2 separate regions of the Homo sapiens genome follow, and region 1 is linked to region 2. The links are contacts of gene promoters, found by promoter capture Hi-C in blood cells and fetal thymus (Javierre and others, 2016). All regions are on one chromosome and are shown on one strand. The core of a region is centred on a gene start or on the middle of the fragment in contact, and the rest is flanking DNA. Distances in the headings are between cores, read along the strand shown.

What was found. Contacts are between HindIII fragments. The CHiCAGO score rates a contact against its expected background, and 5 or more counts as called.
Region 1: a contact is called between a fragment that was not itself captured here and the fragment with the promoter of ANKRD49 in region 2, in 2 of 17 cell types (total B cells and activated CD4 T cells). The highest score is 7.0, in total B cells.

The regions. Positions count from the first base shown.
Region 1 is chr11:90,196,089-90,203,086 of GRCh38, forward strand. It overlaps CHORDC1 (cysteine and histidine rich domain containing 1), which reads right to left. Exons shown (of 11, transcript NM_012124.3): 10 at 6,725-6,787; 11 at 4,341-6,463. The coding sequence ends at 6,317. Among named protein-coding and RNA genes, the nearest start is that of CHORDC1, 23 kb to the right of the region's middle. The HindIII fragment of the contact is 7,147 bases long and covers 1-6,559 here.
Region 2 is chr11:94,492,734-94,497,045 of GRCh38, forward strand. It overlaps ANKRD49 (ankyrin repeat domain 49), which reads left to right and starts at 1,251. Exons shown (of 3, transcript NM_017704.3): 1 at 1,251-1,302; 2 at 3,871-4,218. The coding sequence starts at 3,961. It overlaps MRE11 (MRE11 double strand break repair nuclease), which reads right to left and starts at 1,111. Exons shown (of 20, transcript NM_005591.4): 1 at 1,058-1,111; 2 at 49-173. The coding sequence starts at 68. RefSeq lists an enhancer at 1,461-1,550. The HindIII fragment of the contact is 5,313 bases long and covers 1-3,123 here.

The sequences.
Region 1 (6,998 bases), core at 1,736-4,235, 4.3 Mb before region 2:
CCACATCTAAGAATACTGAGATGCAAAAATTGCTCAGAGTCCAGATGATAATAAGGCTAAGTTTATTTCTAGGCACAAGCATTTAGAACAAACTGCCTGCAAGGGACAAATTTACCGCCATGGGCCTTTTACTTTCACTTGGTCTTACAGCTGCAGAATCCATCCCTAATTTTTGTCAACTGCCCATTGGCCTTTTAGAGGTTCTTAGTAAGAAAATCAATGGCTGAACTAACTACTGCGAAAACTGAAAGCACATTATCTTCTCATGGTAATTAAGTCATTTAATTAATATTAGGAAATAAAGGAATAAGCACTAATAAATGGCCATTTAGATTCTGGGTTTTGCGTGGTGACTTAGATGTCTTCAGTTTCATGGTTAAGAGTGTAAGGACTTTGGAATCAGTTTCTAATTTTAAAATTAAATTTCATCATTTGCTATCTATGTGACCCTGGAGGCAAGTTATGCCCCTTTCCTTTGCCTACATTTCTCCATCTGTAAAATACAGGTTATACTGTAAATAATCATGGTGATGTTCTGAAGAGAAAAGCTATCATAAGCACTTAGCAAAGTGTTTGGCACATTCTAATTATGCAACAAAAGCTATCATCATGTCCACAGCTTCAAGTTACCTCTTGTAACTAACACTTCCTAAATTCCTATGGCTAAATTACAAATTTCTACTCAAGTGAATTAAGTCCTGTGATTAGACACCTACTTTCCCTGAAGGTTTTAAAATTATCTTCAGATTCTGGCTTTCATTTGTCTTCCCAATGGCTTTCTGTTCCCTTAAATTTGTCCTCCATCTCTGCCCCCAATTACTCAGCTCTTTCCTACAGAGGATTTTAAGTAGCTTTACTGGGGGTATGGTAGAAAGAGAAAGGGGACTTGAAGGAATCTTTAAGGCATCAAAAATAGTCTAAGTTGGCCTCAAATATGAACTGAGTAGTCTGGGCTCAATCTGTTACTGGAATTCAGCTTTCTTTAGTAGGAAGCCTTTGAAGGTTTTACATAAAATTATAATGATCCCATTTATTACTATCAGCCTAAAGAACCATTTAAAATTTGTGAATTTTCTTGACACAATTTCCACATTTTTCTGTACCTTAAGAATGTATCATGCCTAGTTTTATCAATCATGTTTTATCACTGATACTAACAGAATCAAGGGTCTGTGGTACATTTATTTTGCTTTTGCCCATCCAGCCTTCCTTGCCCATTCTGGAAAAAGAATGTTTTCAATAAGGGGACCCATTACAGATGGTTTGGGTGGCACACTGAGTATTTAGCAGGTGAGCCTAAATACTCCTTTATTGGATTTACTTATTCCCATGCTTGTGTACTGCTACTTACATCACAATCAAAAGCAGGGATTACCAGTTTTTTGAATTAAAACAAGATGCCCTCAAAGTTCAGAGTGCTATGAATGTTGCAACCTCAAAGTTAGCTAGTGAATTTACATTACTGCCTATTACGACTCTAAATCCTGAGAGCCAGAAAAGGCCTATGAGCCTCAGATCTTACAAATAGCCTGGAGTACTTCTTGAGGATTTGTAAACATTCCTTGGACTCAGCAGTCCCTTGAGAAAATCATTTCCTCCAAAATCTGTGTCTATATTCTCTATCTTGTTTAAGCTCTCCCTCCATTCCCAAACCTAGGAATCATCCTAAATTTTCATCTAGACCCTAATTCAAGATCCTCAGTCTCTCTTCTCTTCCTACTGCTTCTGCTGTATTTCATGCCCTCATCCTAACTGGTCTGTCTCTACACCAACTCTAATTGTTCCCTTCTATCAAAGCTAAACTTGATGCTGTTTTACTGGATGTTTTATCTAACACAGAGGTAAGAATTATTATTTACGAGCTACATATCACTATCAAAATGGCAATGAAAACTTTTGTGCTTTTTGCAGTAAGGATTCTGAAACTTCAATTTGGAGGCTGTTAAGAAAAACTAGAGACCCTAAGAGTCATCAAATCACAAGTGATGAATTGGCTATTATATCCAAAACCATCCAGGCAAAATTACTACATAATTTTATAACTTTACTAACACAACAAAAAAATTGTTCCTGGTTACCAAACACATTAAGAGTTTTCCATGCTATATGCCCATGTTATATCAGAAGCAGCACAGAATAGTGGTTAAGAGCATGGAACAACACAGAGGCAGGCTGCATGAGTTTGAAATCTTTATACCACAACTCATTAGTCTGAACTCTGGATAAGCTACTTAACCAATGTCATAAAGTCAGTTTCCTCATCTGTAATATAAGAATAAAAAAACCCACCTCACAGCATGGTAAAGAAGATTAACAAGTTAATCATAAAAATAAAATCTGAATAAATATGAAACTGCAAAATGAAATAAGCAAAATGAAGAAAAGGATCAGGGTGTTTAAAAATATTAATACATCCATCTAACCTCTTTACTGAACGAGGGGAAAGTGCCTCAAGTTCAGGGAGGTTTCCCTTTTCCAGACTCAATCACTGATTTTACTTTTATTAGCAAAGTTTTTAAAAAATAATTTAAACATTTAAGCAGCATCTCTGCCTAATGAAAAAGGAATGGCAAATTGAATTATTTTGACACATAATCTTTAAGAAACATAAAAATGTTTAAGGCTGGAAGTTATATTTCTTTTCAATGGACATTAAAGGTGACCCACTAAACGGAAAAACTAAGAAAAGTCATTGAGTTTTTAGTGAAAACATGGTCTTCAGAAAAACTGTTCTTAAAGATAATCTTCACAATGAAGAATTCTGTTAAAAAGTTAAAGAACATGCAGAAGAAAACCTCTGCAAGCCTGGTATTTTAGAGATAGTGCCATATGTATAAAGCCATAGGCATATACGTAACTGAAGAAGGCAAGCCATCCAACACCACCAGATTAAGTTGTTAAGATACCTGGGCAGTAGGGAAGCAGTCAGGGATAATTAACAACAACAACAAAAAACCTATCAAACAATCAAAACAAATGAAACAGAAAACCCTATTAACAAAACCTAAAAACAAGCTGGGCTTAATAGCTTGCATTTCAAAACTGAGGCCATGGAATTATACTGGTGAAAACAAAGTAAATAACAAATATGAATGCCAAGTCAAAATAATTTGCCATAAAAGATGAACAACAAAAAAAAACCCTGTTAATGTTCAAATAGATAATTTAAAAGTACCTGACTGCTAAAAACAAAATTTACAGAGTACATACCCATATATCCTAAAAGGGACACCAGCCCTCATAAATGAGCTTTTAAGAGTTTACTTGGCCGGGCGCGGTGGCTCACGCCTGTAATCCCAGCACTTTGGGAGGCCGAGGCGGGCGGATCACGAGGTCAGGAGATCGAGACCATCCCGGCTAAAACGGTGAAACCCCGTCTCTACTAAAAAAAAAAAATACAAAAAATTAGCCGGGCGTAGTGGCGGGCGCCTGTAGTCCCAGCTACTTGGGAAGCTGAGGCAGGAGAATGGCGTGAACCCGGGAGGCGGAGCTTGCAGTGAGCCGAGATCCCGCCACTGCACTCCAGCCTGGGCGACAGAGCGAGACTCCGTCTCAAAAAAAAAAAAATAAATAAATAAAAAAAATAAAAAAAAAAAAGTTTACTTACTGTGAGTATACGCATGACATAAATTTTCAGGCTGAGGAATAACTGATTAAAAAAAAAAAAAAAATTGGGAGTTCGGAGAGGGGAAATAACTCAAAGTCCCTTTAAAATATTTGCAAGAACTCTTTAAGTTTCTCTACACTTTGATGGTTGAATAATTTTCTGAAGAAAATTCTTAATTAAATCCTTGCATAAAATATAAATTAGAATAAAGTAAAATCATTACAGTCCTTTGCCAGTATAGTTACACCAAGAAGTTACATCTTCAACCTATAAACATTTGTTGATTCCTAATCATATCTTAATTGTTTATAAATTACTGGCTTAAATTATTACCAAAAAAGTAGGACAAGTCTTAAGACCTTGAAGAATTCCACTAAAAACAGATGGTAAAAATAAAATGTTCTACTTTAGTTAATAGTATTATACAAAGGTTAATTTCTTAAGTTTTATAAATGTTCTATGATAACGTAAGATTTTAACATTAAGATTAATATAAGACATAAAGAACTGTTGTATTTTTACAACTTTTCTGTAAACCTAAAACTAGGTCAAAGAAGTTAAATAAAGGCTCAGTTTATTAGGATCTTACTTCCTTTATACTAGTAAATGTGCTATGAAAGAAAAATAGCATTTTAGGTTTCCCATCTTTAGTTACCAAGTATATATATAATATACCTAACTTTGACTGCTTTGCTATAGTAATTATTTTTAATGCTAAAAAAGACAAAGCAAATTTCTAGAGAAATAAATCAATAAGCACTTTTTATTAACTTTTTTGACAAACCGATAGTAAAACATATGCTACCTAACGATAACTGTGTCCCTTTATGTATGAGTCTAAGAGAAATATTCGGATTTTTATCTGGACAAGAAATTCAAAGGCTCCTTAAGAAGAAAGTAAATACCATGGTCACTAATGTAACCAGACTAAATATAAAAGCTACATATGTATGTGTGTGTGTGTGTGTATAAATCAATGTTTTGATCAATGTAACTAATCTGAGGTTACAATAACTCACTGCTTCAAATAATATTTCAATTACATGTAACAGATTAAGATACTGTTTAGGGGAAAACAGCCTCAGAAGGAAGTATGAACAAAAAGGGATATTAATCATTACCTTTAATCAAACTAATTATCAACCTTTCCCCCAACCCATAAAGACTTCATGTCTCTAAATGGTTCCTAAATCATGGAAGATAACTTGAAAAATTTTAAATACATCTCCAGGTATCAGATGCTTATGTACTCCATGTGGGTCCAACTTTTACTGCCCAGAGTTTCTTGTCATGGTAATGTAACATCATGAAAGTCTGGTTGCCAGATCTTTATGTTTTTATTTGTAACAGAGCTAAACCTTTTAACAATTATATTAACTACAACTAAGTTATTTGCTAATGGTAGTAGAATGATACATATGTTTTATTCACGAAAATAGTACTTCTGCAAATTTTTCTTTGTAAGAATTCCATAAATACCAAGGAAAAGAAAAGACTCAAGGGGTTTGGGAAATAAACCCCTTTTAATTTTAAATCTACATAAGTTTAATTTATTCCCAAACTTTCTAAGTTCTTCCAGAGTTCTGGCCTTCAGAATATTTCCTAATTTTTCTTCTTGAGTTCTGCACTAACTCAAAACCTATCCAAACGATCTAATTCTGTATTACCTATATTTAATATAAAGTACAATATATAGTCAACATTGTATCACTAGAATTGTGAAGCTCTTCATGACTTTAAAAAAAAACTCCAAAACAATTAAGCTATTTTTATTTAACATGTAATAGTCATAAAGCAACTCCATATATTTAGTTTTCTGATATCCTAATGTATTTCCACAAACCTTTTAAGTCTACAATTTTATATAGTTTTCCATCAGGGAGGCAAGATATATATAATTTCTTTTTATATTTAACTAAAGGTTTTAAGAGGGCTTAGTCTCTAAATCAGTAACAATTAGTCATAACACCATACAAACACATTTAAATATTCAGGAAAGAGGTTGTTAAGATTATTGCTTAGTCTTATAAAATGGTGAATTTTAACCAAATTGATACCTCTGTAATCTTATTTATGTTTCCTATAACATCATACTGCTTGGCAAGTAATGTAAGTTTTGACATAATTTAAAAATTCAAGTAGTTGTAAACAAATTCTAATTTGTTAAACAATTCATATATTCCCCTTTAGTTACTATACTACCTCAGAATTAATCCTCCTTAAAAAAGTAATCATCCCACATAGAAAAAACTGCAGAGCTTCATCTCTTCCTTAAATATTTTCAAGTACTGTAAGAACACAAATCCATGAAAAAACTGATTAAAATTTGACATTTCATCTTGCTTTACTAATTATGGAATAATACAAAAACATAAAAAAAATGTTCCTTAATATTTCTTTGCTTAACAGAGAAATACAAAGAAATACTGCAATTATGGTTATGGGCTACTTTCCAGCCTCTTCAAGTATAGGACACAACTATGGTTCCTACCAGTAGGGAGAAATGAATAATCAATCTTACATAACACAAAAGAAAGATGAGAGGCACAAAAAGACAAACTGACTTTGGCTTTTAAGAACCTAATGTTAACCCTGAAATGCCACATTCAGTAACACAACAACAAAACAAAAGATTACAGCAGCAAGCCACCACTTCACACAGTATTAAAAATTCGGAAATAATGTAATAGCCTTCCTTCCATCTCCCACTCAATCTGTTGTGGCATCTTTTTGTTTTTCCTGCTTTTTAGCTGCAGGCAGTTCAAGGCTTGCCCACTGCATCGGTTCAGCTTTTCTCATAGTGATTTCAATCTTTGTTGCAGTCATAGTTACATAACTTCGCTTTACATCAATCACCTGTAACATATCAAAGAGAATTACAGGAAACCTCAGTAGTTTTATTAGTCTCAGAGGAAAACATCAGACTTGCTTATGCCAATAATCCCAAATCCAAGCTTCTAAAGGCCTCTTTTATATCTAGTCTTAAACTTTTTGGTAGGATACACTGTTAAGTTATACATCTATACTTTGCATCAATGTTTACTGAAGAATTGTCTTTTATTCTACAAATGATCTAAGTTATCAGAAAAAAAATTCTTATAAATTTGTAATACTTACACCCCATAATTTCACATTTTGATCAAATTCCTTCTCTCCTTCAAATACAATATGCACATTTAACTGAAAAAGATATACACAGTTAATTGATCTAATTCAAACTGAAGATTTATGCTATCAAACACTGATTATAAAAATAAGACTGACAAAAATGAATTAAGCTATTTTAAGAAACTGCCAATACTGTATTGTTTCATATGAGAAAAGCCACTGACAAAAAAGAATAACTGGCTTCAAGTTTCATATTGAGAACTAAGTACTATATTACTTGATA
Region 2 (4,312 bases), core at 1-2,500:
GCTTTAGAAACCCCAAATAACAAGGGATTCCAGAAGTCAGGTGCTTACAGTGCATCTGCAGTACTCATTTTTATGGTCAGTCAAGCTCCTCTGGGACCAGGTTCTTCTCCAAGAACCCCTGGGTACTGTACTCAAATGTCAGAAAATGCACTCGATTCCAAATTCTAGAAATTCTAAAAACAAAATTACATCATAAAACACATTTTTTAAAAGCCTGCACGTATTTAACCAACATGATTTACGCTGCACAAGGTACAGACGTCTTAATTAGACTGGCAAATTTAGAAGTCTCATTTTCATCTAAGCACCCACTATACTTTTTTTTAATGAACTGAGCATAGAAAATAATATATCTCCAGTGTACATCCTGTTTCCTAGTTTCACCAAGATGATTAAACTCCTATTTTCCTTTCCCGTGCTCTTATGGGAAATTAATGTATGCTAAATAAATGGGCAGAAAGGGTCACATACGGTTCTGGTTCAACACACAAACAACTCTAGATGTGCAGATATTTTTAAGTTGCACGCATAGGTTACTCTGGAGAACAGAGGCAATCCTGTATTTCCTATTCAAACCCCACGATTTTTTTTAAAGGACCTGGCTAGTTTGGAAAAGGGAACGGGCCCGCGTTTAAAGCGAGTGTAAATAAACAAACACGTGGTCTGCGGAGGAACACCTTTAAGCACCAGCAGGATGACTGAAAATAGCCAGGTTTGGGGAAGAGTGGCTGCCACCGCGAGACAACCCCCACCACATCTGGAGCTCCAGATTCCGTCGGGATTCCAAGCCTCAACACGCCCTCACCGCAGGGAACCTCGGAATCAGAACGCTGAGCCCGCCAGGACCCCTCCCCTGCCCACTCGGCCCGCTCTTCCCGAGGTTCCAGTTAACTCTGGGCTTCCGCCTGGGAACCTGCAGAAACAGGAGACGAATGCGATTCCTAAATTACCCCACTGCTGGACTCTTCGAAGCCCCACAATCGCGACCCAAGGCTGTCTTCTTTTCGGGAAGAAAGGGCAGGATCCGTGAAAAGAAAACAACACGGTCTGAACTTGCCTCTGAGAACCCGCAGGGCCGTAAACCTGAATTCCGCGGGAGAGAACGGCGTCCGTTTCTCTCGCGACACTTCATGGATAACGTAGATGCTTCAAGTCCAGTTCGGCTCTCATTGGCTACCGCACGCAGTGAGGGGGCGGGGAAAGTAGCGGCGAGGCCCCGCCCTCACGCAGGAGCCAATCCTGAGCAGGCTAGGAGACGAACCCGGAAGTGAGATGCAAGGCGGCGATTTTCCCTTCTGTCAGGTGGGTTGTTATTCCCTGTCCCGGACCTCGCTTTTTGATGGACCGGCGCCATCTAAGAACTCCTGAGCCCGTGGGGGTGGGTAGCCTGTGGACACAGGCCGAGCCCTGCAGGTCAGGCCGCTTCGTGGTCCCCAGGTAGGACCGAAGCCGCTTCTCCGCTCTTGGCTGTTTGGAAGGCCGCAGGCGGAGCTCACGGGCCTGTGAGCTCCCGGCTGGTGGCAGAGTGCCGGAGCTGGATCCCCTCTCCCTCCCTCCCAGTCGCCAGACCCTCTACAGGTGTCGCCCCTAGGTCCTTGAGTTCAGCACATCTGCACTGCTTTGTGCTGAGAGCAGTAAGATGTATAGTGCAGCGAAAAATAATGTAGAACTTTTGAATTAGAACGTCTGCCCTTTCAGTTCCATTGAAGGGTCCTTGATCTAGGGCAAGTTGTTTTAATCTATCTGAACCTCCTTCACCAGTAAGGTTTATAGCCCCGCCTATCACTGAGTTGTTTGTAAGGAGTTGACATAGTTCGGATCTCTCTCAAAATAGGATATGCCCTTTAAGTTAGGAAACATACCCTGACATTCCTGATGGAATATCAGGAATATCATCATCAAGTCATCAGTTTTGTTTCTTAACTGTAAGTCGGGTAGATGCGCCTAGGCTTGGCTTTTTAAACTAAATATACCAGTAAAATTTTGTACATAATTTTTTGTATCTGGATCTGTAAACTCAAAATTTATATAAAGGGAGTTTTTATTGAAAGGAAAAGCATGTTGGGGGAGAGGGTAAGATCTGTGGTATAAGGTTACTATATTTGATATAATTACAAGTGAACTTTTATTTATTAGCATCTGTTAAGTGTTTAATGAATTGATGTATGGTCATTTTTGTGTTGCAAGGTTCAGGAATTAGTTTGAGAATCAAAGAAAAAGTGGAAGCTCCAGGAGAATTAATAAAACACAGAGCAATTCTGATTGGATATCTCTGATTCCAAGGGTGTCTCTGATTGGGTGACTGAAAAGCCGGATTGGCCTTAGGAATACTTTAGTAAAATTCTTACATTTTACAATAAAGTAACAGGACCAGAAAAGTTACTGGACATGAGTAATACATTTAAACTTGAGTTTAGTGCTATTGCCACTAGTAATAAAGTTTAATACCACATTAAGATTGTATACTGTTAAACTTGTGAGATTAGGTATCAAGAAATCAGTATCTTGGGGTTATGCCTAACTCTGGAACTTCTCAGAATCCATTCCAGGCAAAATCAAGTGACAAGACTTTAATTAAATGTAATGCTACACATACTTCTTAATGCCTTCTATAGACAAGTAGGAGATAAATATAAGTTAAATGTGGTCCTTATCTTTCAGCTTATAATCTTTTAAGGGGCTAAAACAAGAACAAAGTTAGAGGTGAAATGTAGCACCAAAAAAAGTAGAAAGCAGAAAGCGATCTAAATGAGAGGATCAAGAAAGAATGAAAGAGATAACATCAGAGAAGAGCCTTGAAAGACTGATTATATTTCAACAAATAGAGTTGAGAGGCTGGGAATTCGTATTTGTAAATTATCTATTGGTTATTCTCCTTTTCTTTAATTGATTAAGGTTTATATGTTGTGTAACCCTTTAAGCTGATATTGGTTTAAAAATTAATATGGCAGCTTAGCAGAATAAACATCAGTTCCTTCAGGAAGCCTTCTTTAATCCCTTAGGACTAGGGGAATTATGAACCTCCTGTATACTCATGGTTTCTAGACAAGGTCTTGTAGTAGTACTTATCATGTTGTCTTTGCCAGACACATGATGTCTTTGCCAGTCACCTACACTAGAGTAAGCTTCCTGAGGTGAAGACATGGATCTTGCTCATTATTGAATCCCAGTACCCAGAAGTTGGCACATACCAGACATTCTATTCATATTAGTTGAATGAAGGAATGAATGACAGCCAAAATTCAGTTGAAAACAAGGACCCAACTAAGAACTATAGTTGCCTATCAATAAACAGGACTACTTTTTAAAGCAGTGAATTTTCCTAGGCCTGAAATTATCAAAGTAGAAATAGGATAATTAGTGTAGATGCTGTGATAAAGATATATGTACCGATGACAGATTGGAACAGATGTCCTTTTGGGGGCTATTCCATCTTCAAGAATCCCTGATTCTTCGAAATAGTATTTTTAGGAATTAGAAGTTTTTATTTCTGCTCTATATTATCTGTGTGTCTAGTTTATAAAAATCTTGAATGCACCTGTCTTCATTGTATTAGTTATACTTCAAAACCTTTAAGCATTCATCACTGTTAGCATAACACCATCATACCTAAACCAGTAGATTAAAAATAATAGTTATAATAATATAATTGACTTAGAAGAAAACAACAAAAGTAAGAAGCATTAGACCACTATTAGATCATAGTTTGTTGTTTTCTGTCAGCATCAGTATTTAGTGTATGTAAGGGATATCATGAGAAAAACAAGAGTTTAGACAGGGTTTAATTGTATATGTTTGCAAGACTTATCTATGCAGTTGATAAAGCCTGAATTATTGTTTTACTAATAACTTTTGTATTTGTGTTTTCAGATCTTGATGAACAAAGCAGTCATAATTCATCTCTAGAAAGATTTATATCCTGGCATTTGAAATGCTTTTTATTTAGAATAGTAGTAAAAAATGGAAAAAGAAAAAGGAAATGATGATGGAATACCAGACCAAGAGAATTCCTTGGATTTTTCTGAACACTTTAACCAACTTGAATTGTTGGAAACACATGGACACCTTATTCCTACTGGTACTCAAAGTCTTTGGGTAGGCAATTCTGATGAAGATGAGGAGCAAGATGACAAAAATGAAGAGTGGTATCGATTGCAAGAAAAAAAAATGGAAAAAGACCCAAGCAGATTGCTTCTTTGGGCTGCTGAAAAAAATCGGGTAAAAAAAAAAATTACAGAGGGAAGTGTGACAGTAGGAAAAGCACTGGGTTCAAGCCAGAAGACCTGCCTTTACTGTTATGGCCATCATACCT